6 separate regions of the Homo sapiens genome follow, and regions 1, 2, 3, 5 and 6 are each linked to region 4. Evidence: promoter capture Hi-C in human tissues and cell types (Jung and others, 2019). All regions are on one chromosome and are shown on one strand. Each heading gives the region's core, a stretch centred on a gene start or on the middle of the fragment in contact. The rest is flanking DNA. Distances are from core to core; before and after follow the strand shown.

Region 1 (4,515 bases), core at 774-3,273, 190 kb after region 4:
ATAATAATGGGGAGTGGAACGTGGTCCAAGGTGGATAACGGGGAGAGGGGAATCGCTCTAAGGCGGATAGTAGGGAGGGGGAGTGGTCCAAGGTGGATAAACGGGGAGTCGGGGAATGGTCCAAGGTGGATAATGGGGAGGAAGGAGGGGTTCAAGGTGGATAATGCTGACGGGGGAGCGGTCCAAGGCGGATAATGGGGAGGGTGGAGTGATCCAAGGTGGATAATGGGGAGAGAAAGTGACCCAGGGTGGAAAATGGGGAAGGTGAGCGGTCCAAGTTGGATAATGGGGAAGGGGAGCAAGCCAAGGCAGATAATGGGGAGTGGGGAGTGGTCCAAGGCAGATAATGGGATGTGGGGAACGGTCCAAGGTGGATAATGGGGATGAGGGAAGAGGCCCAAGGTGGATAATGGGGAGGGTGAGCAGTCCAAAGTGGATAACGGGGAAGAGGAAGCTGTCCAAGGTGGATAATGGAGATGCGGAAAGGGGGGCGGGGTGGGGGGTTGTCCAAGGTGAATAGTGGGGAGAGGGAGCAGTTCGAGGTGGATAATGGGGAGGAGGGAACAGTTCAAGGTGGATAATAGAGACACAGGAGGGGTCCAAGGTGGATAATGGAGAGGCGGGTAGTGGCCCAAGGCTGCAGTGAGCTGTGATCACACCACTGCACTCCAGCCTGGGCAACACAGCAAACCCCGTCTCGTTCATTCATTCATTTGTATGGTGGCTCCCACCTATAGTCTCAGTATTGTGGGAGGCTGAGGCGGGCAGATCAGTTGAGGGCAGGAGTTCGAGACCAGCCTGGTGGCCAGATGGCCTCAGGCCTTGGGCTGGTGTGAGGATTGGGAGGGGAGAAAGGGGAAGGCTGGTTAGAGGCTGTTTTCCTCTGAATGTGTTTAGCGGCAGGTGTGGATGGGGAGTGCTGGGTTAACCACAGGTGTTTGCCAGGTAAGCATGGGCCCAAGAGAGTTGAGACTATCACAGGAGTGAGGGTGCTGTTCCTGTTAGAAGGAAAGAGACCGAGGCCAGGTGGCTGGTGTGTGGAGCCCACCTCTGCAGGAGTGTCACGCGCGAATGCGCAAAGAGGAGCCGGGGAGAGGCTGAGATGTTGCTCACAGAGCTTTGGGAGCCTTGTGTGTGTAGAGTGGAATGGCCTCCTCCTGTGTGTAGAGTGGAATGGCCTCCTCTGCTCCACACTGCCTGTGTGTGAAGGGGCCATGGTGGTCCCGGAGTGGGTGAAGCTGCTGGGACCCTGTGTAGGACTGCATGTGTTTTCACGGCGGTGCTGAGAGGGCCGTCTGCAGCCAGACTGGACTGCAGCCTCCATCTCCTGGGCACAGGTGATCCTCCTGCCTCAGTCTCCTGAGCAGCTGGGACTACAGAGTCGTGTGCCACCATGCCTATTTTTTTTTTGAGATGGAGTCTCATTCTGTCACCCAGGCTGGAGTGCGATGGCACAATCTCAGCTCACTGCAAACCTCCACCTCCCAGGTTCAAGCAATTCTCCTGCCTCAGCGTCCCGAGTAGCTGGGACTACAGATGGACACCACCACTCTCAGCTAAGTTTTTTTTGTATTTTTAGTAGAGACAGGATTTCACCATGTTGGCCAGACTGGTCTCAAACTCCTGACCTCAAGTGATCTGCCTGCCTCGGCCTCCCAAAGTGCTGGGATTATAGGGGTGAGCCACCCACCCAGCCTTTTAAAAAATTATTCATTTATTTATTTAGAGATGGTTTTTATTGGAACAGAGCAGAAGTAGGAAGTCAGTCTGGGCCAAGATCCTGAGAGAAGTGTTTTCTAGAGCCTGCTGTCCTATGTGTGGCTGCTGAGCACGGAATCATGGCTTGCAAGACTGAGTATTAAATATTACTCAACTTTACTTTAAGCATAGTGACAAGTGACTAGTGTGTTGCACAGTGCAGTTCCAAGGAATGTGCTCATGCAAGGATTGTCCCTTTATTTTAGAGGCACCAGTGAATGCTTATCACGATGAAAGTGATGTGACCTTGGCTGGCTTTTTTGGAGATTCTTTAATATGGTAGTAGGGGTGAGATGGGGTTAGGGGAGGAAAGGCTGAAAGCATGAATAATCTTATATTATTTAACCAGAGGCCAGCAAGAGGGAATTCAGTCTTGAATTTGTGAGAGACCATTCAGGCTTGTGGGAATAGGTGCTGCAGAGCTGACGCCAAGGTGCCCTGGATGGGATGGACAGTGGTGGAGACCTAGGGTCCAGGAGGAGGAGACACGGGAGCATTCCACACCTTTGACCCAGGGGTCGGGGGCAGAGTGGCATGTGCTGTGGACAGAAAGAGATGCACAATGCAAGTGCATGTGGTGGTTGGGAAGAGTGATCTGGGGAGGAGGAGCATTGTGATTCAGGTGAGGGAACACCACCCAAGGAATGTCCATCTGGCATTTGTAAACTGAGGTGAACCTGGCATTTGGGAGAGAGGTGGTTGGGTAGAGAATTGGGACTTAGCTACAGAGGGATTATAACGGAGACTGGGGGAACAGAATGAGGAGTTCAAAGGGTAGCATGTAGAGGGAAATGCATCTTGGGGCGTCCCACAGTTAGAGTGGGGCTTGAATAAGTGGACCCCTCAAGACAGCCAGAGAATGGGGATGAGAGAAGCAATTGTTAGCTTAGCTCTGCAGAGAGCATGTGTCAGTGAGCTGTGAAGGGGTGGCAGAGCATCAGAACCAGCGAATAAGCCAAGGCCGGAAGATTTTGCAAAAAATTGTTTGGGATTCTCTGATTGCTTTGTTTAGGTCCCATGAAATAGTCTAGAAAATGTCCTCCAATTAAGCTTGAACTTGGAACATTGACTTAGAAATAACACTTGTCTCTCCACTCTTAGATCAGAGGGCTGGTGTGATTGAAAAGTGGGCACTCATTGGCCTCAGAGACGTTTTGTCATGGTTAAGACAGGACTCAATGGAAACAGAAAGTTGAACACGTGAAACTTTAGTTTTTTGTAGGTCAAAAACGATTGAAAAAGGCAACATCGTTTGATCATATCTAATTGTGTTAAGAAGCATTCTTCAAATGAGCAGCTTCCCAGCACGTGTTGGGAGTTACCAGGTGTTTCCTCCAAGCCTTCAGGGTGTGAATGTGTGGTTAGGCTGGTGGTAGGCTAATGGCTCTGGTCAGCATGTTGCTGGTTATCTAGCTGCCTGTCATTTTGATTACAGTAATTATGTCCTTTACAGTGTATATTATTAATTGCTGTTTGTGTCGAGTTCCCTGGGAAGTGGACTCTGAGTTGATTTGTCTTTAGGAAGTTTACTGAGGAATGCTTTTGGGATTAGCACCTGTGGAGTGAGTGAACAGAATAGGATTGGACAGAAAGACAATGGGGCTATTACACCCTAACCCTGTTGGGCTGCCACATCCATGAACCTGGTACACCTCCCCATGATTCAGGTCCTCTTAAATGTCTTTCATCAGTACTTTGTACTACTCAGTGCATGTATTTTGCCAAACTTATTTCTAATATTGGTTAAATTTAATATTTACCCCAATATTAAACATTAATATTTAATGTTTTAATTTTTTTACATATATAATCATTTTGTCTATGAATATAGTTTTATTTCTTCTTTCCTAATCCTTCTACCTTTTCTTTTTCCTGCCTTATTGCACTGGCTAGGACCTCCGGTAATGTGTCATGTTAGAGTAGTGAGGGGAAAGCAGTCAGTCTTTCGCTGTTTGTTATGATACACAGTCATCCCTCAGTGTCCATGGGGAATGGTTTTAGGACACCCTGTGGATACCAAAATTCAAGGATGATCAGGTCCCTGATTAAAAAATGCTGTAGTGGCCAGGCGCAGTAGCTCACACCTATAATCCCAGCACTTTGGGAGGCCGAGGCGAGCAGATCACCTGAGGTCAGGAGCTAGAGACCAGCCTGACCAACATGGAGAAATCCCATCTCTACTAAAAAATACAAAATTAGCTGGGCATGGTGGCACATGCCTGTAATCCCAGCTACTTGGGAGGCTGAGGCAGGAGAATTGCTTGAACCCAGGAGGTGGAGGTTGTGGTGAGCCAAGATCGCACCATTGCACTGCAGCCAGGGCAACAAGAGCAAAGCTCTGTCTCAAAAAAAAAAAAAAATTAGCCGGGTGTGGTGGTGGACACCTGTAATTCCAGCTACTTGGGAGGCTGAGGCAGGAGAATCACCTGAACCTGGGAGGCGGAGGTTACAGTGAGCCAAGATCGCGCCATTTCACTCCAGCCTGGGCAAAAAGAGCAAAACCTTGTCTCGAAAGAAAGAAGAAAGAAAGAAATGCTGTAGGATTGATATATAACCTATATATATCATCCTGTGTACTTTAAATCATCCCTAGATTAATTTTAATATCCAGTGCAGTGTTAATGCTATGTAAATAGCTGTTATGCCATATTAAAAAATTTGTATTATCTTTTATTGTTATATTGTTGTTTTTTTATTTTTATTTTAAAAATATTTTCAATCCCCAGTTGGTTCAACCCATGGATGTGGAGGGCTGAC
Region 2 (4,343 bases), core at 1,455-3,954, 150 kb after region 4:
CCTTAGGGCCCTGCATCCTGCTCAGCTCTGTGGAAGGGGCAGCTAGTGGGGTGGGCCTGGATCTGAGGAGGGAGATTCTGTTCTCAGGGCCCCAAGGGTCTGCTGGGCAAGGGGCTCCAGGCTGAGGGGGAGAGGCCTTGGGCAGCAACTGTTCCCCAAAGGCCAGCTCACCTGGGGCTCAGCCACCATCGCTGGGCTCCTCCTGGGAAGGATAGAGGCAGGGTGTCAAAAGGAAGACACAAAAGGGCAAGCCCATGCCCCGCAGACCTGACTGCTGCAGCGGCCCCAGGTAACAAGCTGTCTTAGGAGCTGGTGACCCTGCATTTCCTTCAGCATGAAGGGCACCTGTGCCCAAGACCTTCTCACCTGGGCTTAGTGCTGCTGCAGAGCCCTTGAATTCAGGTTCAAGGGTGATGCTGTGCCTCTGCTGCTTGGAGTCTGGAGGATGTGACCTGACCCTGACCCTGCCTGGCAACACCTCCCACTGGTACCCTCTCCCACCCCCGGAGTTTGGGTCCACTGTGGGCTCCCTCGGGTCTCCAGCTTGCCCTCCTCCCTAGAGCACCTCAAATCAATGCCTTGTGGGGGCGAGGCATGTTCAAGAGGGGCTGGAGTCATGCTGGAGGGGTGTGCATCCTCAGAGTTTCCTGCAGGAGGACCTATAGTTTGGGCCTGGAGAAAACCCTTTTGGTAGAGCTGGCAGCAGGCCCCAGGCTGGGAATGGCAGGGGGTGAGGGCTCACCCCTCCACCTGCTCCCCTCCTCCCCAGCCGCCCCCACCCCTGCCTGAGGCCAGGGCGCCTCCCTCCCCCAATCACTACCCTGGTCCTTGGTCTCTCAGTCTCTGCCGGCCCCTGGCTCAGCCCGCTCTGACTGGGGTTTGTAAACTGGCTTCCTCACCAGGCCTCTGGCCCACAGCCCTGTCCATCTTGAGGCCTCAGCTCTGCAGCCTCCCTGCACCCCCTCGAAAGAGGCCACCACAAAAGAAGCCACCATGGCATCATGGTTGCAGGTGGAGGGGCACGGCCTGAGCTGGACCCTGGAAAGGTGGTCAGCAGGGGTCTCTCCCCAGCAGCTGGGCCCAGGGGGTTGGGGGCAAGCCATAATTGGCTGCATGTCACCTCAACCACCTCTGCCTCATGGACAGCAGAGACCACGACTCCACCCACTGGGGCATGAAGGGCAGGGAGTGTTAATCTGTGTGGGCTCCATGTTACACCTAGAACATGGGGTATAACACAGATAGATGGCCACACATGGTCACAAGTCAGTGTCCTAAAGAGAAACAAAAAGCAGGGAAGCTATTCCAGATTAAAACAGCCAGCGAGGTGCGGTGGCTTAGGCCTGTAATCCTAGCACTTTGGGAGGCCAAGGCAGGCAGATCCTTTGAGTCCAGGAGTTTGAGACTAGCCTGGGTAACATGGTAAGACTTGGTCTCTATAAAAAAATACAAAAAATTAGCCAGGCGTGGTGGCACATTCCTGTAGTTCCAGCTACTCGGGAGGCTGAGGTGGGAGGATCACCTAAGCCTGGGAGGATGAGGATGCAATGAGCCATGATGGCGCCACTGCACTCCAGCCTTGGGGACAGAGTGAGACCTTGTTTCCAAAAAAAAAAAAAAAAAAAAAAAAAAAAGGCCGGGCTCACGCCTGTAATCCCAGCACTTGGGGAGGCCAAGGCAGGCAGATCACGAGGTCAGGAGATCGAGCGTCCTGGCTAACACGGTGAAACCCCGTCTCTACTAAAAATACAAAAAATTAGCTGGGCATGGTGGCAGGCGCCTGTAGTCCCAGCTACTCGGGAGGCTGAGGCAGGAGAATGGCTTGAACCCAGGAGAAGGAGCTTGCGGTGAGCCGAGATCACGCCACTGCACTCCAGCCTGGGCGACAGAGCGAGACTCTGTCTCAAAAAAAAAAAAAAAAAAAACAGCCTGAAGAGACACAATTAAATGCAACATGCAATCTTGATTAGCTTCTGAATTAGAGGGGAAAAACCCAGCTATGCAGACATTTTAGAGACAATTGGAGAAATAAGTTATGTGACCACAGGATTTTTGCTTTTGTTTGTTTTTTTGAGACGGAGTCTCACTCTGTCGCCAGGCTGGAGTGCAGTGGCACGATCTTGGCTCACCACCACCTCTGCCTCCTGAGTTCAAGTGATTTTCCTGCCTCAGCCTCCCAAGTAGCTGGGACTACAGGTGCATGCCAACACACCCAGCTAATTTTTGTATTTTTAGTAGAGATGGGGTTTCACCATGTTGGCCAGGATGGTCTCGATCTCTTGACCTCGTGATCCACCCACCTCAGCCTCCCAAAGTGCTAAGATTACAGGCATGAGCCACCGTGCCCGGGGACCACGGGATAATTGTTAATTTTCTCAGGTGAAATAAAGTATTGCTATCATGTAAGAAAATGTCCTCATCTCTAGGAAATAGGCTGAGGTACCTAAGGGAAAGTGTCATGATGTCTACAAATTACAGCTGACCCTGAAACAACACAGGTTTGAACTGCAAGGGTCAGTTATAATTGGATTTTCTTCCAACTCAGTCACCCCTGAGATTGCAAGACCAATCCTCCTCTTCCTCCTCTTCCTCAGACTACTCAATGTGAAGACAATGAGGATGAAGACTTTTATGATGATCCACTTTCACTTAATGAATATTAAATATATTATGTCTTCCTTATGATTTTCTGAACACCATTTTCTTTTCTCTAGCTTATCTAAAGAATAGAGTATATAATACATATAACATAAAAAATGTGTTAATTGACTATGTTATGCGTAAGGCTTCCAGTCAACAGTAGGCTATTAGTAGTTAAATTTTAGGGGAGTTAAAAGTTATGCTTTGATTTTCAACTGCACAGGGGTCACTGCCCCAACCCCTTTATTATTCAAGGGTCAACGGTATTTTCAAATTACTTTTCAGCAGCAAAAAGTAAATATATTCAAAGATACAGCCAGTGTGGCAAAATGTCAACAACTATAGAATCTAAATGAAGAGTTTATGGTGTTCATAATACTTTTCTGTGGATTTGAACATTCTCAAAATTAAGAGCAGTGTGGAAAGTAAAAAGTTCCTCTTCAAAGTTTCTTCTTTAAATCAGAAATGTTATTGGTATTTTCTCTCAGAGCTAGTTCTATTCAAGCTTGTTATTTTATAGTGATAACTCTGTTATGCCTTATATAGCAAATGTAACAGAATAAGCATACCGTATGCCTGTATACTCTGACTTCAGTATTTGTGTTAGACATTTTCACAGACATGTAGTACATTCTGTGTCCTTGTACCTTAACCGAAATATTCGTGCTGGACGTGCCCAGACATGTCCCAGCTTGCAGCCTATGCCCCTTCCTTATTCAGAAATGTTATTACTGTTCTAAAGTCCTTTCGTAAGCAACTTCCTCTTTTCCTTTGTTCCTCATTGTCTTTACCTATTTAGAAAGTTTTAAATTGTTAACCAATTAAGTTCAGCCTAGAATGTGAGGTCCAACTCAGCCAACGGAGATAGGACACAGCAGTAGGGACCTCATGCGTTAGGGATACATATTCCTGTCTCCCTTTGTTCGGTGTACTCTCTTGGCAAGACTGCTGGCAAGCAGTACCATTTCTGCAGAAAGTAAAGTTGCCTTGCTGAGAGTACTTTTTGTCTAAATGCTGCCTCTTCCTTGCGACACCAGGGAATGAGCATTTATTTCTAACAAGCAGCAATGGAAGACATCACTCTGGCTTCTTGCAGAGGGCAGTCTGGAGGCAGGAGAGGACACGGGAGGAAACCTGTGGTCCAGGGCACAGGTTGGGGTCCAGTGGCCCTTTCCTATCTCAGTGCTCCACGTTTGCTAAGTCAGAGGTACCACCTGTCATCACCATCCCATGGCCATTCATGCTTGAGAGGAGAGTCCTGCACAGACAGAGCCAGGCTCTGCTCCACATTTCCCTCTTTATGCTATTCCCTGGCCCCCACCACCCCCAGCACGCTTCCGGCCCAAGAGCCGTGCAGGGACAGCAGGGCAGCTTCTAGATATCTTGTAGGGCATTGGACGTGAGAAGAAGAGCTGAGAGAGGAGCCCTGGGTGATCCTTGAGTGGAATCAATGAATGAACGAATGATTTCCTCTCACTTCCTCGAGTTTACTTCATATTGGTGGATTGTCTCAGGAAGACTCCAAAAGTGATTGCCACCACTCAGCTTTCTGGCAGTACAAGTGGGGAAAACGCAGGGCTGAGGATGAGGCCAGAGGTGGGAGTCTCGCTTGTCCCTTCCCAACTTTCACCAGACAAAATGGCGGACCCCGCCCAGAGACCACGCCCCTCACCTTAGAGGACACAGCTCCTAGACAACTCCCT
Region 3 (4,249 bases), core at 1,580-4,079, 170 kb before region 4:
TGTCCTTTGCCTGTCTCCAAGTAATCTGATATTTTTGTTTAAGTCCTGCTGTATTAACATGTGTTTCACAAGGAGTGAAAATCTTGGGCATTAGTAAGCACAGTTGAAACTAGTAAATCAGCTTGACCATTAGCCCTTACAAGGGGCCCAGGAAGATTAGTGTGTGCTTGAATGTGTGTAATATAGAAAGGAAAACAGCGATCATGCACTGTCTTTTGTAAAGAAGAAAACAGCTGATAGAGTTGTTCACCCACAAGATATTTAATGAGTGCAGTTTCTATGTATTGAATGGCTTGAACAACATAAGGTGAATCAGAGACAATATTTACAGGTTGCTTAAAGTCTTCTAACACAGCTATAACTGTCTGTAATTTAGCCCTTTGTGCCCATTGAAAGTCAGTTTGAATAATTTTGTTTTTAGGTCCTATATAAGCTGCTTTTCCATTGCTAGAGCCATCTGTAAACACAGTGACTCCTCCTTCCAATGGAGCACTATTGGTAATTTTTGGAAGGACCCATGTTGTTAGCTTTAAAAACTGAAAAATCTTCTTTTTTGGATAATGATTGTGGTAGAGAAAAGAGAGATCAGACTGTTACTGTGTCTATGTAGAAAGGGAAGACATAAGAGACTCCATTTTGAAAAAGACCTGTACTTTGAACAATTGCTTTGCTCAGATGTTGTTAATTTGTAGTTTTGCCCCAGCCACTTTGACCCAACCTGGAGCTCACAAAAACATGTGTTGTATGAAATCAAGGTTTAAGGGACCTAGGGCTGTGCAGGACGTGCCTTGTTAACAAAATGTTTACAAGCAGTATACTTGGTAAAAGTCATCGCCATTCTCTAGAGTCAACAAACCAGGGGCATAATCCACTGCGGAAAGCCGCAGGGACCTCTGTTCTTGAAAGCTGGGTATTGTCCAAGGTTTCTCCCCATATGATAGTCTGAAATATGACCTCATGGGATGAGAAAGACCTGACCATCCCCCAGCCTGACACCCATAAAGGGTCTGTGCTGAGGTGGATTGGTAAAAGAGGAAAGCCTCTTGCAGTTGAGATAGAGGAAGGCCACCATCTCCTACCTGCCCCTGGGAACTGAAGGTCTTGGTATAAAACCCGATTGTACATTTGTTCAATTCTGAGATAGGAGAAAAACTGCCCTATGGTGGGAGGCGAGACATGTTGGCAGCAATGCTGCCTTGTTATTCTTTACTCCACTGAGATGTTTGGGTGGAGAGAAACATAAATCTGGCCTACGTGCCCATCCAGGCATAGTACCTTCCCTTGAACTTAATTATGACATAGATTCTTTTATTCACATGTTTTTTGCTGACCTTCTCCTTATTATCACCCTGCTCTCCTACTACATTCCTTTCTGCTGAAATCATGAAAATAATAATCAATAAAAACTGAGGGAACTCAGAGACCGGTGCTGGTGCAGGTCCTTGGTGTGCTGAGTGCCGCTCTCCTGGGCCCACTGTTGTTTCTCTATACTTTGTCTCTCTGTCTTATTTCTTTTCTCAGTCTCTCATCCCACCCAACTAGAAATACTCACAGGTGTGGAGGGGCAGGCCACCCCTTCATCTGCCACCCAACGTGGGTGCCTTTCTCTAGGGTGAAGCTATGCTAAGAATGTGAGCATCGAGGACAGCCGACGAGAGATTCCCGAGTACGTCCACGGTCAGCCTTCCGGTAACCTTGTGCACTCAGAGGAATCCAGGGTAACAATGGGGCAAACTGAAAGTAAATATGCCTCTTATCTCAGCTTCATTAAAATTCTCTTAAGAAGAGGGGGAGTTAAAGCTTCTACGGAAAATCTAATTACACTGTTTCAAACAACAGAACAATTCTGCCCATGGTTTCCAGAACAGGGAACTTTAGATTTAAAAGATTGGGAAAAAATTGGCAAATAATTAAAACAAGCAAGTAGGGAAGGTAAAATCATCCCACTTACAGTATGGAATGATTGGGCCATTATTAAAGCAACTTTAGAACCATTTCAAACAGGAGAAGATAGCGTTTCAGTTTCTGATGCCCCTGAAAGCTGTGTAATAGATTGTGAAGAAGAGACAGGAACAGAGTTCAAGAAAGGAATGGAAAGTTCACATTATAAAAATGTAGTAGAGTCTGTAATGGCTCAGTCAATGCAAAATGTTGACTATAATCAATTACAGGAGGTAATATATCCTGAATCATCAAAATTGGGGGAAGGAGGTCCAGAATTATTCGGGCCATCAGAGTTTAGACCACGATGGCCACCAACTCCTTCTCCTGTGGTTCAGATGCCTGTGACATTACAACCTCAAATGCCAATACAGACACAGTATCTACAATATCAGCTGGTTGAAAATAAAACCCAACCACTGGTAGTTTATCAACACTGGCCGCCAGCCGAATTTCAGTATCGGCCATCTCCAGAGGTGCAGTATAGATCCCAGATGGGATCCTGTGCCAAATAGTAGGGCACTATATCAACAACCCACGGCGATGGTGTTTGATCCTACAGTACCAGCTAGTGGACAAGATAGTGCACTGCATGAGACCGTTGATACAGCCAGAAAACAGGGAGATCTTGAGGCATGGCAGTATCCGGTAATGTTACAACCGATACCGGCCGGGAAAGGGCCAGGAAAGGGAGTCAAGCAGGAGCGTCTGTCCGAACGGAGGCTAGGTAAGAATATTTCACCATGAAAATGTTAAAAGACATAAAGGAAGGAGCTAAACAATATGGACCCAACTCTCCTTATATGAGAACGTTATTAGATTCCATTGCTCATGGAAATAGACTTATTCCTTATGATTGGGAAATTTTACCTAAATCTTCCCTTTCACCCTCTCAGTATCTACAGTTTAAAACCTGGTGGATTGATGGAGTACAAGAACAGGTACGGAAAAATCAGGCTACTTATCCTGTTGTTAATATAGATGCAGACCAATTGCTAGGAACACGTCCAAATTGGAGCACTATTAACCAACAATCAGTAATGCAAAATGAGGCTATTGAACAACTAGGGGCTATTTGCCTCAGGGCCTGGGAAAAGATTCAGGACCCAGGAACCAGTTAGAGACAGTTTTCAGACTGTTATATCATTCATTATGTTGATGATATTTTGTGTGCTGCAGAAACAAGAGACAAATTAATTGACTTTTACATGTTTCTGCAGACAGAGGTTGCAAACACAGGCCTGACAATAGCATCTGATAAGATTCAGACCTCCACTCCTTTTAATTATTTGGGAATGCAGGTAGAGGAAAGAAAAATTAAACCACAAAAAATAGAAATAAGAAAAGACACATTAAGAACATTAAATGACTTTCAAAAATTGCTAGGAGATATTAATTGGATTGGGCCAACTCTAGGCATTCCTACTTATGCCATGTCAAATTTGTTTTCTATCTTGAGAGGGGATCCAGACTTGAATGGTAAAAGAACAATAACTCCAGAGGCAACTAAAGAAATTGAATTAGTTGAAGAAAAAATTAATTCAGCACAAGTAAATAGAATAGATCACTTAGCCCCACTCCAATTTTTGATTTTTGCTACTGCACATTCTCCAACAGGCATTATTGTTCAAAATACAGATCTTGTGGAGTGGTCATTCCTTCCTCACAGTACAGTTAAGACTTTTACATTGTACTTAGATCAAATGGCTACATTAATTGGTCAGACAAGACTACGAATAGTAAAATTGTGTGGAAGTGACCCAGATAAAATCATTGTTCCTTTAAACAAGGAACAGGTTAGACAAGCCTTTATCAATTCTGCTGCATGGCAGATTGGTCTAGCTGATTTTGTGGGAATTATTGATAATCATTACCCAGAAACAAAAATCTTCCAGTTTTTAAAATTGACTACTTGGATTTTACCTAAAATTACCAGACAAAAACCTTTAGAAAATGCTCTGACAGTGTTTACTGATGGTTTCAGCAATGGAAAAGTGGCTTACACTGGGCCAAAAGAATGAGTCATTGAAACTCAATATCACTCAGCTCAAAGAGCAGAATTGGTTGCTGTCACTTCAGTGTTACAAGATTTTAATCAGCCTATTAACATTGTTTCAGATTCTGCATATATAGTACAGGCTACAAAGGCTACAAAGCTCTAATCAAATATAGTATGGATTATCAGTTAAATCATCTGTTTAAATTGTTACAACAAACTGTAAGAAAAAGAAATTTCCCAGTTTATATTACTCATATTCGAGCACATACTAATTTACCAGGGCAATTAACTAAGGAAAATGAACAAGCT
Region 4 (4,401 bases), core at 921-3,420:
ACAAAAAGTGAGAAAGAAACAGAAGATAAATAGCCAGATGACCTTGGTGCCATCACCTGGCCCTGGTGTTAATAATATCAACCCCTAACCTAAACTACTTGTGTTATCTGTAAATTCCAGACATTGTATAAGAAAGCATTGTAAAACTTTCTGTTCTGTTAGCTGATGCTTGTAGCCTCCAGTCATGTTCTCCATGCTTTCCCAGTCTATCATAATAACCCTTTCACGTGGACCCTTTAGGGTTGTAAGCCCTTAAAAGGGCCAGTAATTTCTTTTTCGAGGAGCTCAGCTCTTAAGACACAAGTCTGCCAAAGCTCCCAGCCAAATAAAACCCCTTCCTTCTTTAACCCAGTGTCTGAGAAGTTTTGTCTGTGGCTCATCCTGCTACAATAAGATGAGAGTTCTCCAGGCACTCCAGGCACTCTGGCCTTTGGGTGGGAACTGTCTCCAAAACTCACCCCCAGGTTCCTGGCTCTCCTCACTTCAGGAGGGGGTGGGTCTGCCACGTAACCACCGCCCAGACCTCACAAGTGATAGCACTTCACCTTTTTGCTTCAGATATTTTAAAGAGAAATAACACCTTACAGATGCAGTCTCTTTCTAAACTTCCCAGATCCATTCCCTTTAAACAATCCTCCCTCAGCATGGTTTTTAGACTTGATTTGTTTTGTCTTAGAAATGGAGTCTTGCCATGTTCCCCAGGCTGGTCTCAAATTCCTGAACTGAAGTGGTCCTCACTCTGCCTCTCAAATAGCTGGGACTATAGGTTGCCCTCACCTCCTGCTGTGAGGTCAGTTCCTAACAGGCCACTGACCTGTAGCGGTCCACAGCCTGAGGGTTGGGGACCCCTGCTATAGGTGCACACCACCACACCTGTTTTTTTTTTTAATTTTGTAAAAATGAAGCCTTGATATGTCGCCCAGGCTGGTCTTGAACTCCTAGCCTCAAGTGGTCCTCCCACCTAGTCCTCATAAAGTACTGGGATTGTAGGCATGAGCCACTGCACCCAGTCTCCACTCCTATTTATTATTGAACACTATTCCATTGTATGGCTGATGTGGTTTGCATCTGTGTCCCCGCCCAAACCTCATGCTGAAAGGTAATACCCAATGCTGGAGGTGGAGACTGGTGGGAAGTGATTGGATCGTGGGGGTGGCTTTTCATGAATGGTTTAGTACCATGCCCTTAAGTTATGGTCTCATGATAGAGTTCTCCTGAGATCTGGTTGTCCACCTCCGCCTCCCAAAGTGCTGGGATTACAGGCGTGAGCCACCGCACCCAACCTGTCATTTTTATTATAACCCTTCTAATGGTATGAAATGGCACCTCCCCGTGGCTTCCATTCGCATTTCTCTAATAGCCAACAATGCCGAAGGCTTCATGTACCCATTACCCACTTTGTATCTTCCTTGATGTCTACTCACATCTTCTGCCCATTTAATTAGGTTGTTTCCCTTTTCAGAGTTTTTTTTTTTTTTTTAAGTTTTATTGGGCTATAATTCACATACCATATAATTCACCCATTTTGTACAATTCAATGATTTTGGCATATTATTTTTTAACTATGGTAAAGTACATGTTAAATAAAATGGCTCGGCCATTGTTTCGGACCGAGCTCCTGCGCTAGGGCCCAACAGAGCAGCCCAAAGCGGAACCGAGTCACGCGCGCCGGACGCCACCCGACAGGAGGGGAAACGGGGCAGCTCTCAAAACCCTGGAGGCGCAGACCGTCCACACGGGACAGGGACGCCCGCTCGGCTCCGCTCCGCGCTGATCCTCAAGGTCTCGCGGTTTCCCCGCCGCCCACCCGGACGCCGACGAAAGCCAGCGAGCTCCTCAGCCTCAGGTGACTGGAATTCTGACCCCAGACCACGGGACGCGTTCTCCCGCTTTACCCTCACTCTGCGCGGGCGGGGAGGGAGACGCGGGCGCAGGCCGCAGTTTCTACCTCAGAAACGGAAACACAACACCGCCTTCTTTTTCTTTGGGGAAAGAAAAAAAAAAAACTGTCTAAGACGAGGTCTGGGACCCCGCCGGCGACCCCCGATTCCCCCGGGCGGGGAGGGGGCGGGACCTGGCGCGGCCTCGGCTCCGCCCCTCGGGCCAGCGGACCACAGTGGGGCGGTCATTGCTGCCTTCCTAGAGCGGCCCGGAAGTGGCTCTCAGGGCGCTTCCGGGGACCAGGCCCGCTTTTGGCTGCATCAGCCGGGGATTGCCGGCGCCAGGTGCTGGGGGCGACTCGGACAGCGGGAGCGTGGGGTGGAGTAGGATGGAGTCTCCCTCCCGAGCTGGGGGTGTGGGCCTAGGAAAGGCTGCTTCGCCGCTGTGTTCGGAGAGCTCTGGATACTGCGGGGCTTTTCCGCGGAGGAGCGCCCGCCGGTAGGTTGGCCCCGAACCGTGGGGGCGGCGACGGCCGAGTGCCAATTTGACTCTGTGCACCAAGGTCCCCGCGCCCCGGAACGGGCGACGCCGCGCCCCCATCAGAGCCGCGGGTACGGAGTCAGGGTGCGAACCCGGCCTTCCAAGCCGCGCGACCGGAAGCGGGCAGCTCGGAGGCCTTCCCGGATGGCTCTTTGGAGTGGGAAGGAGCTCCTGGTGCTGGCGGGACGGTGAAGGAGTTGGCAGTGGGTGGTCGTTGACTCCCAGGGAGAATGGGGCGCCGTGAAGCCCGTGGGGAGCTCCTGGGCTCCCCCAGCGCTGTGCAGAGTGGCCTGACAAGTGCCTCGAGGACAGGAGCTGTGCCCCGCTGAGCTCTGCTCCAGTACCTGGTGTGCTGAGGTGGGCACGTGCGTTTCCTCTGGCATAGCAGGTGCTTGTGCTGCTGCACTGCTCCTTCAGGTGCGTCGGAACCCTCTTTAGTTGCCGCACTTGCCTCTGTTGCCAGCCGTTGCTCAGCTCTTCCAGCCCGGGGGTTGGGGCTGTGGTGGAAACAGCTGGGACTTCTGAATAGACAGGTCTAGGCTTCAGTCCTTGACTTTGGCAGCTGTGTTTAGAGCTTTGATTTCTTTTTACTTTTCTTTTCTTCTTCCCTGCCTCCCCTCCCTCCCCCCTCCCTCCATTCGTTCGTTCCTTCCTTCCTTCCTCACAGCATCTCTGTTGTCCAGGCTGGAGTGCAGCGGCTCGATTTCGTCTCACTGCAGCCACGACTTCCTGGGCTCAAGGGATCCTCTGTCCTCTCAGCCTTCTGAGTAGCTGGGACTACAGACGTGCACCACCACGCCTGGCTAGTTTTTTAAATTTTTTGTAGAAACGGGGTCTTGCTATGATGCCCAGGTTGGTCTCCAACTCCTGGGCTCAAGCGATCCGCTGGCCTCACCTTCACAAAGTGCTGAGATTTCAGGCTTGAGCCACTGCACCTGGCCTAGAGCCTTATCTCCCTCTCTGTCAGGTGAGAATGGTAATTCTTCTTGCCCACTGTTGTGAAGGATTCAAGATTGAATAGTTAAATGGTCTCAGTGTGGTCTGTGGCGCCAGCTGCAGTGTCCCTGTGTTCCCCGGACCGTTCCCCTAGTTCATTCTTTCATCTATTAATTTACTTGGAGAACTTGTGCTGTTTCCTGGTCCTCCTCCCTGCCCCCTACTTCTCTGCCAATTCCTGCTTGTCCTTCATGCCTTAGATGTCACTTCCTCTGGGAGGCCTCCGCTCCTCCTGGGACTGACATGGACCCCTCTGCCACCTGCTTCCAGGGCCATCTCCGCAGCACTGACTGTCATTGGTAGTTCACACTGTCAGCATGCTGATGATGGGGACCATATCAACCCTCACTCGCTGGCCCAAAGGATGTGAGAGTCACTGGTCTTCTCTCCTCCACCCCACTCTAGGCATCTGCATCTGGGACCGACCTCCTGGGCTGGCTGATCAAAGAGGAAGCAGCAGCAATGTCTGCTGTGGGGGCTGCAACTCCATACCTGCATCATCCTGGTGATAGTCACAGTGGCCGAGTGAGTTTCTTGGGGGCCCAGCTTCCTCCAGAGGTGGCAGCAATGGCCCGGCTACTAGGGGACCTAGACAGGAGCACGTTCAGAAAGTTGCTGAAGTTTGTGGTCAGCAGCCTGCAGGGGGAGGACTGCCGAGAGGCTGTGCAGCGTCTTGGGGTCAGCGCCAACCTGCCGGAGGAGCAGCTGGGTGCCCTGCTGGCAGGCATGCACACACTGCTCCAGCAGGCCCTCCGTCTGCCCCCCACCAGCCTGAAGCCTGACACCTTCAGGGACCAGCTCCAGGAGCTCTGCATCCCCCAAGACCTGGTCGGGGACTTGGCCAGCGTGGTATTTGGGAGCCAGCGGCCCCTCCTTGATTCTGTGGCCCAGCAGCAGGGGGCCTGGCTGCCGCATGTTGCTGACTTTCGGTGGCGGGTGGATGTAGCAATCTCCACCAGTGCCCTGGCTCGCTCCCTGCAGCCG
Region 5 (4,425 bases), core at 1,584-4,083, 220 kb before region 4:
AGGCCCCACTCCCACAGCACCTCACAAGACCCATTAGCTTGGAATTCCAGCTGGCCAGCGGCAGCAGGCTCGAGACAGCCGGAGATGGACCGAGTTCCCGGGGGAGGGCAGCCGCTCTATCTGTGGTTTGAGTTGGCTGCTCTAGCCTGCTGGCACTAGGGACCAGGAGGAATTCCCCATAACACAGCACAGCTGCTGAGCCTGATCGTGGCCAGGCTGCTTCTTTAAGTGAGACCAAAATCCATCCCTCCTCACTGGACAGGGCCTCCCCATCGGAATTTTAGCAACTCCAGCCAGAGTTCTATGGACAGAACTCTGATTTCTCCCTGGGATGAAGTCCCCAAGGAGAGGGGTAGCTGCTGTCTCCCCAGTTCAGCCGACTCAGCCTTCCCAGCCTGCTGGCTCTGGAGAATCCCGGAGATCAGTACAGCACTCCTGCTCTGCCAAAGGTCAGCAATGTCAAAGATCAAAGGTAGATAAGCCCACAAAGATGAGAAAGCATCAACACAAAAATGCTGAAAACTCAAAAAGGCAGAATGCCTCTTCTCATCTAAATGACAACACCTCCCCAGCAAGGGCACAGAACCGACCCAAGGCTGAGATGGCTGAATTGACAAAAGTAGGCTTTAGGAGGTGGGTAATAACAAACCTCACTGAGCTAAAGAAGCACATTCTAACTTAATGCAAGGAAGCTAAAAATCATAAAAGAAATTAGAGAAGCTGATAACCAGAATATTCAGTTTAGAGAGGAACATAACTGACCCGATAGACCTGAGAAACACAACACGAGAACTTCACAATGCAACCACAAGTATCACTAGCAGAATAGGCCAAGTGGAGGAAAGAATCTCAGAGCTTCAAAACCATCTGTCTAAGACAGGAAGAGAGAATAGAGAAAAAAGAACAGAGAAGAATAGAGAAAAAAGACCAAAAAAGAATGAACAAAACCTTCAAGACATATGGGATTATGTAAAAAGACTGAACCTAACACTGATAAGGGTACCTTGACCCACCACGATCAAGATGGCTTCATCCCTGGGATACAAGGTTGGTTCAACACAGGCAAATCTATAAATGTAATTCCTCACATACACAGAACTAAACACAAAAACAACACGATTATCTCAACAGATGCAGAAAAGGCCTTCAATAAAATTCAACATCGCTTCATGTCAAAAACTCTCAATAAACTAGCTATTGAAGGATCACACCTCAAAATAATAAGAGCCATATATGACAAACCCACAGCCAATATCATACTGAATGAGCAAAAGCTGGAAGCATTCCCCTTGAAAACAGGCACAAGACAAGGATGGCCTCTCTCACCACTCCTATTCAACATAGTACTGGAATCTCAGCCCAAAAGCTTCTTAAGCTGATGAATCACATCAACAGAATCTCAGGATACAAAATCAATGTGCAAAAATCGCTAGTATTCCTATACATCAACAACAGGCAAGTAGAGAGCCAAATCATGAATGAACTTCATTCACAATTGCTACAAAGAGAATAAAATACATAGGAATACAGCTAACAAGCGAAGTGAAGAACCTCTTCAAGGAGGACTACAAACCACTGCCCAGAGAAATCAGATAGGACACAAATAAATGGAGAAGCATTCCATGCTCATGGATAGGGAAGAATTAATTCATGAAAATGGCCGTACTGCCCAAAGTAATTTATAGAAGAATTCAATGCTATTCCCATTAAACTACCAATGACATTCTTCACAGAATTAGAAGAAACTATTTTACAATTCTCATGAAGCAAAAAAGAGCCCAAATAGCCAAGACAATTCTAAGCAAAAAGAACAAAGCTGGAGGCATCACACTACCCAACTTCAAACTATACTATAAGGCTACAGTAACCAAAACAGCATGGTACTGGTACAAAAACAGACACATAGACCAATGAAACAGAATACAGAACTCTGAAATAAGACCATACACATACAACCATCTGATCTTTGACAAACCTGACAAACACAAGCAATGGGAAAGGATTCCTTATTTAATAAATCATGTTGGGAAAACTGGCTAGCCATATGCAGAAAACTGAAACTGGACATCTTCCTTACACCTTATACAAAAAAAATAACTCAAGATGGAATAAAGACTTAAACATAAGACCTAAAACCATAAAAACCCTGGAAGAAACCTTGGCAATACCATTCAGGACATAGGCATGGGCAAAGACTTTATGACTAAAACACCAAAAGCAACGGCAACAGAAGCCAAAATTGACAAATGGGATCTAATTAAACTAAAGAGCTTCTGGACAGCAAAATAAACTCATCAGAGTGAACAGACAACCTACAGACTGGGAGAAAATTTTTGCAATCTGTCTGACAAAGGGCTAATATCCAGAATCTACAAAGAACTTAAACAAATTTACAAGAAAAAAACAACCCCATCAAAAAGTGGCCAAAGGAAAAGAACAGATGCTTCTCAAAAGAAGACATTTATGTGGCCAAAAAACATATTGAAAAAAGCTCATCATCACTGGTCATTAGATAAATGCAAATCAAAACCACAATGAGATACCATCTCACACCAGTTAGAATGGCCATTATTAAAAAGTCAGGAAACAACAGATGCTGACGAGGCTGTGGAGAAATAGGAATGCTTTTACACTGTTGGTAGGAGTGTAAATTAGTTGGTAGGAGTGTAAATCCCATTATGGGGTATATACCCAAAGCATTATAAATTATTATACTATAAAGACACATGCACTGTATGTTTATTTCAGCACTCTTCACAATAGCAAAGACTTGGAACCAACCCAAATTCCCATCAATGATAAACTGGATAAAGAAAATGTGGCGCATATACACCATGGAATACTACGAATTTATGTCCTTTCCAGGGACATGGATGAAGCTGGAAACCATCATTCTCAGCAAACTAACACAAGAAAAGAAAACCAGACCAGGAGCAGTGGCTCATGCCTGTAGTCTCAGAACTTTGGGAGGCCGAGGTGGGCAGATCATCTGAGGTGGGGAGCTTGAGACCAGCCTGACCAACATGGAGAAACCCCGTCTTTACTAAAAATACACACAATTAGCCAGGCATGTTGGCACATGCCTGTAATCCTAGCTACTTGGGAGGCTGAGGCAGGAGAGTCGCTTGAACCCGGGAGGCAGAGGTTGCGGTAACCCAAGATCATGCCATTGCACTCCAACCTGGGCAACAAGAGTGAAATTTTGTCTCAAAAAAAAAAAAAGAAAGAAAAAGAAGAAAAGAAAACCAAACACTGCATGTTCTCACTTATAAGTGGGAGTTGAGCAAAGAGAACACATGGACACAGGGAGGGGAACATCACACACTGGGGCCTGTCGGGGGGTGGGAGGCTGGGGGAGGAATAGCATTAGGAGAAATACCTAATGTAGATGACGGGTTGATGGGTGCAGCAAACACCATGGCACGTGTATACCTATGTAACAAACCTGCATGCTCTGCCCATGTATCCCAGAACTTAAAGTACAACAAAGAAAATGTCACATAAATGCATAAAGTCTAGAACAGCTAATAAATTATAATGAAATGTCAACTATAATTCCAGCTCAAAGAGAACACCATGAAACCGTCTGAAACCTGGGAGGCAAGACCAAGCCCAGACAACCCTTGCAGAGTGACCCTGAAGAAGACGACAAGCCCTGCTCCAGTCACACCCGGAAGCTGACTGGTCCACGCACGGCCGAAGCATGAGGAAGCTCATCGTGGGATTCATTTTTCTTAAATTTTGGACTTACACAGTAAGGGCTTCAATTGACCTTACTCAAACTGGGGACTGTTCCCAGAGTATTCATCAGGTCACCGAGGTAGGACAGCAAATTAAAACAAACTTTCTGTTCTATAGTTATTATGAATGTATGGGAACATTAAAAGAAACTTGTTTGTATAATGCCACTCAGTACAAGGTATGTAGCCCAGGAAATGACCGACCCGATGTGTGTTATAACCCATCTGAGCCCCCTGCAACCACCGTTTTTGAAATAAGATTAAGAACTGGCCTTTTCCTAGGTGACACAAGTAAAATAATAACTAGAACAGTAGAAAAAGGAAGCCCCAAACAAATAACTTTAAGATTTGATGCTCGTGCAGCCATTAATAGTAACAAGTTAGGAACACGATGTGGTTCTCTTAACTGGGAAAGGAGCTACAGAGTACAAAATAAATATGTTTGTCATGAGTCAGGGGTTTGTGAAAATTGTGCCTTTTGGCCATGTGTTATTTGGGCTACTTGGAAAAAGAACAAAAAGGACCCTGTTCATCTTCAGAAGGGGGAAGCCAACCCCTCCTGTGCTGCCGGTCACTGTAACCCACTAGAACTAATAATTACCAATCCCCTAGATCCTCCTTGGAAAAAGGGAGAATGTGTAACCCTGGGGATCGATGGGACAGGGTTAAACCCCCAAGTTGCCAT
Region 6 (4,461 bases), core at 1,301-3,800, 190 kb before region 4:
TAAATCTTTGGTACTTAATACATTTCTGGATAAAAGCTTTCCCACATTCATAATATTCATAAGGTTTCTCTCCAGTAAGAACTTTTATTTATTTATTTTTTGACACAGTATTACTCTGTAGCACAGGATGGAGTGCAGTGGCACAATCTCAGCTCACTGCAGCCTCCTCCCTCTGAGGTCAAGTGATTCTGCTGCCTCAGCCTCCTGAGTAGCTGGGATTACAGGCACCCACCACCAACCCTGGCCGATTTTTGTATTTTTAGTAGAGACAGAGTTTCACCATGCTGGCCAGGCTGGTCTCAAACTCCTGCCCTCAGATGTTCCACCCACCTTGGCCTCCCAAAGTGCTGGAATTACAGGCATGAGCCACCACGCCCGACCCTAGAACTTTTTAATGGTGAATTACAACTGAGCTCTAGCTGAAGGCTTTCTCTCGTTCATTACATTGACAGAGTTTCTTATCAGATAAATACTCTGATGTTCAATAAGGAGTAATTTCTGCATAACAGCTTTTCCACATACATTCACAGGGTTTCTCTCTCATGAGGCTTTTCTGATGTCTCGTTAAGTCTGAATTTAATTTGAAATTTTGGTCACACACCTGTCATTTCTGACACCTCTTCTGTAGGAACACTAGTATATATAATAGCATTTGAGCACAGACTCATGCAGCTCCTGTATTTGTTACATTTAAGACCTCTCTCCATTGCATGAGTGTTTGGATGGATCAGTATCACTGCCTGGAAATCTCTCTCTTGTAAAGAAAGGAAAATATTTGATCTGTCATCTGCAAGATGTTTGTAATGATTTTCTCAGTCTCTCTAATTTCTTTTTTTTTTTTTTTTGAGATAGAGTCTTGCTCTGTTGCCCAGGCTAGAGTGCTGTGGGGCAATCTTGGCTCACTGCACCCTCCACCTCCTGGGTCCAAGCAATTCTCCTGCCTCAGCCTCCTGAGTAGCTGGAATTACAGGCGCCTGCCACTGTGCCCAGCTACTTTTTGCATTTTTAGTAGAGACAGGGTTTCACCATATTGTCCAGGCTGGTCTCGAACTCCTGACCTCATGATCCACCTGCCTCAGCCTCCCAAAGTGCTGGGATTACAGGCGTGAGCCACCACACCTGGCCCCCAGTCTCCCTAATTTTTATAAGTTTCTTCAAGCTTGGCTTCCTGCAGAATGTTACATATAAATCTTTCCAATATCCACCTCCCACCTCAAGTGGCTCTCTTTCTTTTTTTTTTTTTTTTTTTTTTTTTTTTTTGAGATGGAGTCTTGCTCTGTCACCCAGACTGGAGTGCAGTGGTGCGATTTTGGCTCACTGCAAGCTCCGCCTCCTGAGTTCATGCCATTCTCCTGCCTCAGCCTCCCCAGCAGCTGGGACTACAGGCGCACACTGCCACGCCTGGCTACTTTTTTTGTATTTTTAGTAGAGACAGGGTTTCACCGTGTTAGCCAGGATGGTCTCGATCTCCTGACCTCATGATCAGCCTGCCTCGGCCTCCCAAAGTGCTGGGATTACAAGTGTAAGCCACAGTGTTGGGCCTCAAGTGGCTCTATTTATTTAAAAACTTCCATGTTTGTAGTTAGCTGGGTCTCAGAATCTGAAACAATCAAGAAAAAAGCATAGAAAACCATAACTAGCCAGGCGTGGTGGCTCACACGTGTAATCTCAGCACTTTGGGAGGCCGAGGCAGGTGGATCACCTGAGGTCAGGAGATCGAGACCAGCCTGGCCAACATGGTGAAACTCTGTCTCTACAAAAAATACAAAATTAGCCAGGTGTGGTGGCACATGCCTGTAATCCCCACCACTTGGGAGGCTGAGGCAGGAGAATCACTTGAGCCCGGGAGGTGGAGGTTGCAGTAAGCTGAGATTGCACCATTGTACTCCAGCCTGGGCAACAAGAGCAAAACTCCATCTCCAAAAAGAAGAAAAGAAAACCATAACTAAGAAAGTAATCAAATGAAATATGTAATACATGTAGTTATGTGGCAAACAGATTCAGGAGTATCTAAAAGCAGCCTTCCAAACACCAAGAGGTCAATAACAGTCCATGATCACCCCCAGGCAATACAGACACTTGGGGATTCTGGATTTCTTTTCATGTCTCTTAAATAGTGGTCCCTGGTACAGCTAGGTAGTAGATGAAGGCAGTTTAACTAAGCTCCATTCAGGGCCCAGTGTTTGTAGATGGTCAATGATGACACTTCATCAGGGTTATGGATGCTGTGTCTCAGCCCCATGGGACTGCTTAGGGAAAGAACACACAGGAGGAAGCTAAGGCACAGAACTGACCCCGTCACTGAGCCTAGTGCCTGCTGAGTGCTCACGCACACTGACAGTAAAAATGCCAGTATGGCCCAGTTTTAACGGAACCCACACACTTTCATGAGCTTTACCTCCTGAAGCCATAACAGGTTCTCACAGTGAAGATCTAAGAAAAAAAATCCCTTCATGCTTCCAGCAGTGGGAGGGGGAAATTAGCCATTCTGAAATATGCCCAGAGCGTATGGTTCTTCATAAAGCCCAACCTCAGGAGAAACTATTTTACCAGAGCCTAACCTGCTGAGGTTTTACCAGAGACAAACTGACCTGGGGAAAGGGAAATACCCAACTCCAACCTGCTCTAGCCTTTCTGTCTCATCTAAGGGGGATAAACCAATACAAAACTCAGAAGCACTTGTGAGGGTCACAATTTCACTGAAAGACTGAGACATACTCATAAGATTATGTGATGTTTCCCCTCCCTTCATATCTTACCCCAGCACTAGAGATCCTGAATAGTTAGGGGAGAATATAACTGAAAGAACTGTGTGTCTCAAACTTCAAGAAGTCTCTAGGATAACCCAAAGGCAACAAGGGAGACCAAAACAAGGACGCTGGAGACATTTTAGCCTCTGATACTGACAGCTGCAGCAAACAGAAAACGCAGCCTAACCGCGGGCCAGATAAAAACCTCACACTAAAGGCCTAACTATCAGTTCCTTTTAACCAGTGCATCGTATCTCACTTTCAATAAAATGTTACCACACGTTCTAGACACACAAAAAATATAGAATTTGAAAAGAAAAAGCAAGCATAAGAACCAAACTGAGCTTATGGCAGAGATGTTGGAAATATCAGACCTTGAATTTTTAAGACTATGATTAATATGCAAAGGGTTTTAATGGAAAGTGAGAACAATATGCAAGAACAGATAGGTAATATAAGCAGAGAAATGGAAACACTAAGAAAGAATCAAAAGAAAATGCTAGAAATCAAAAACATCATGACAGAAATAAAGACTGCCACCTGTAATCCCAGCACTTTGGGAAACCAAGGTGGGTGGATCACTTGAGGTCAGGAGTTTGAGACCAGTCTGGCCAAAATGGTGAAACACCATCTCTACTAAAAATTCAAAAATTAGCCGGGCATGGTGGCACACACCTGTAGTCCCAGCTACTCGGGAGTCTGAGGTAGGAGAATCATTTGAACCCAGGAGGCAGAGGTTACAGTGAGCCAGCCTGGGCAACAGAACAAGACTCCATCTCAAAACAACAACAACAAAAGGACTGGACACAACTGAAGAAAGAATCAATGATCCTGAAGACATGTCAGTAGAAACTTTCAAAATAGAAATGCTAAGAGAAAAAAAGAATAAAAAGGATGAAACAGAACATCCAAGAACTGTGGGACAACTGCAAAAGGTGTAACATATGCATATTGGGAATACCAGAAGAAGAATGAAGGAAAGGAACAGAAGAAATATTTGAGCCAATTGTAATAAAATTTTGCAAAATTAATAACATGCACCAAACCACAGTTCCAGAAAGTACAGACAACACCAGCAAGATAAATACCAAAATTCTATACACAAACATACCATATTCAAACTGCAGAAAATGAAGAACAAAAAAAATCTTCAAAGAAGCCGGAGGGCCAGACACGGTTGCTCATGCCCGCAATCCCAGTGCTTTGGGATGCCAAGGCGGGTGGATCACCTGAGGTCAGGAGTTCCAGACCAGCCTGACCAACATGGTGAAAACCCGTCTCTACTAAAAATACAAAAATTAGCCGGGTGTCGTGATGCATGCCTGTATTCCCAGCTACTTGGGAGGCCTGAGGCAGGAGAATTGCTTGAGCCTGGGAGGCAGAGGTTGCAGTGACCCGAGACTGCACCATTGCACTCCAGCCTGGCCAACAAGAGAAAAACTCCATTCAAAAAAAAAGGCAAGAAAGAAAAAAACTAAGCAAGGGTAAGCATTATATCAGTTTTATCTTCCAAAAAATGTTAAAAGTAACACCAGCCCCGATTCTGTATAAAGTGGCATTATCTTTCAAAAATGAAGGAGAAATAAAAACTCTCTCAGACAAAAATTGAGGGAATTTATTGCCCGTAGATCTAACCTTGCAAGAACTATTAAAATAACTTCTTCAGAGAGGGGGAAATGATAAATCAGAAACTAGTATCTACATAAAGAAA

Evidence for each region. Contacts are between HindIII fragments. The study calls those that stand out against the background at their distance.
Region 1: a contact is called between a fragment that was not itself captured here and the fragment with the promoter of COMMD5 in region 4, in 5 of the 25 tissues and cell types used here (IMR-90 fibroblasts, heart right ventricle, lymphoblastoid cells and 2 more).
Region 2: a fragment that was not itself captured here is called in contact with the fragment with the promoter of COMMD5 in region 4 in 2 of the 25 tissues and cell types used here (lymphoblastoid cells and mesendoderm cells).
Region 3: a contact is called between a fragment that was not itself captured here and the fragment with the promoter of COMMD5 in region 4, in 5 of the 25 tissues and cell types used here (H1 embryonic stem cells, bladder, lymphoblastoid cells and 2 more).
Region 5: a contact is called between a fragment that was not itself captured here and the fragment with the promoter of COMMD5 in region 4, in 9 of the 25 tissues and cell types used here (IMR-90 fibroblasts, adrenal gland, bladder and 6 more).
Region 6: a fragment that was not itself captured here is called in contact with the fragment with the promoter of COMMD5 in region 4 in 5 of the 25 tissues and cell types used here (dorsolateral prefrontal cortex, heart left ventricle, mesenchymal stem cells and 2 more).

The regions. Positions count from the first base shown.
Region 1 is chr8:144,657,880-144,662,394 of GRCh38, reverse strand. All of the region lies in intron 1 of ARHGAP39 (Rho GTPase activating protein 39), which reads left to right. Among named protein-coding and RNA genes, the nearest start is that of ARHGAP39, 26 kb to the left of the region's middle. The HindIII fragment of the contact is 7,618 bases long and covers 1-4,515 here.
Region 2 is chr8:144,701,018-144,705,360 of GRCh38, reverse strand. The region is part of intron 1 of LOC100996662 (a long non-coding RNA gene); the gene reads right to left. Among named protein-coding and RNA genes, the nearest start is that of ARHGAP39, 17 kb to the right of the region's middle. RefSeq lists an enhancer at 2,728-3,927. The HindIII fragment of the contact is 4,670 bases long and covers 370-4,343 here.
Region 3 is chr8:145,025,155-145,029,403 of GRCh38, reverse strand. It overlaps the pseudogene LOC124902043. Among named protein-coding and RNA genes, the nearest start is that of ZNF252P-AS1, 24 kb to the right of the region's middle. The HindIII fragment of the contact is 6,073 bases long and covers 1-4,249 here.
Region 4 is chr8:144,850,817-144,855,217 of GRCh38, reverse strand. COMMD5 (COMM domain containing 5) reads left to right here and starts at 2,170. Exons shown (of 2, transcript NM_014066.4): 1 at 2,170-2,379; 2 at 3,823-4,401. The coding sequence starts at 3,880. RefSeq lists enhancers at 1,550-1,649, 2,200-2,529, 2,107-2,955 and silencers at 1,940-2,129, 4,162-4,313. The HindIII fragment of the contact is 6,847 bases long and covers 1-4,401 here.
Region 5 is chr8:145,071,189-145,075,613 of GRCh38, reverse strand. No RefSeq gene overlaps it. Among named protein-coding and RNA genes, the nearest start is that of C8orf33, 21 kb to the right of the region's middle. The HindIII fragment of the contact is 6,005 bases long and covers 1-4,425 here.
Region 6 is chr8:145,043,475-145,047,935 of GRCh38, reverse strand. It overlaps the pseudogene LOC100419763. Among named protein-coding and RNA genes, the nearest start is that of C8orf33, 6.8 kb to the left of the region's middle. The HindIII fragment of the contact is 3,904 bases long and covers 599-4,461 here.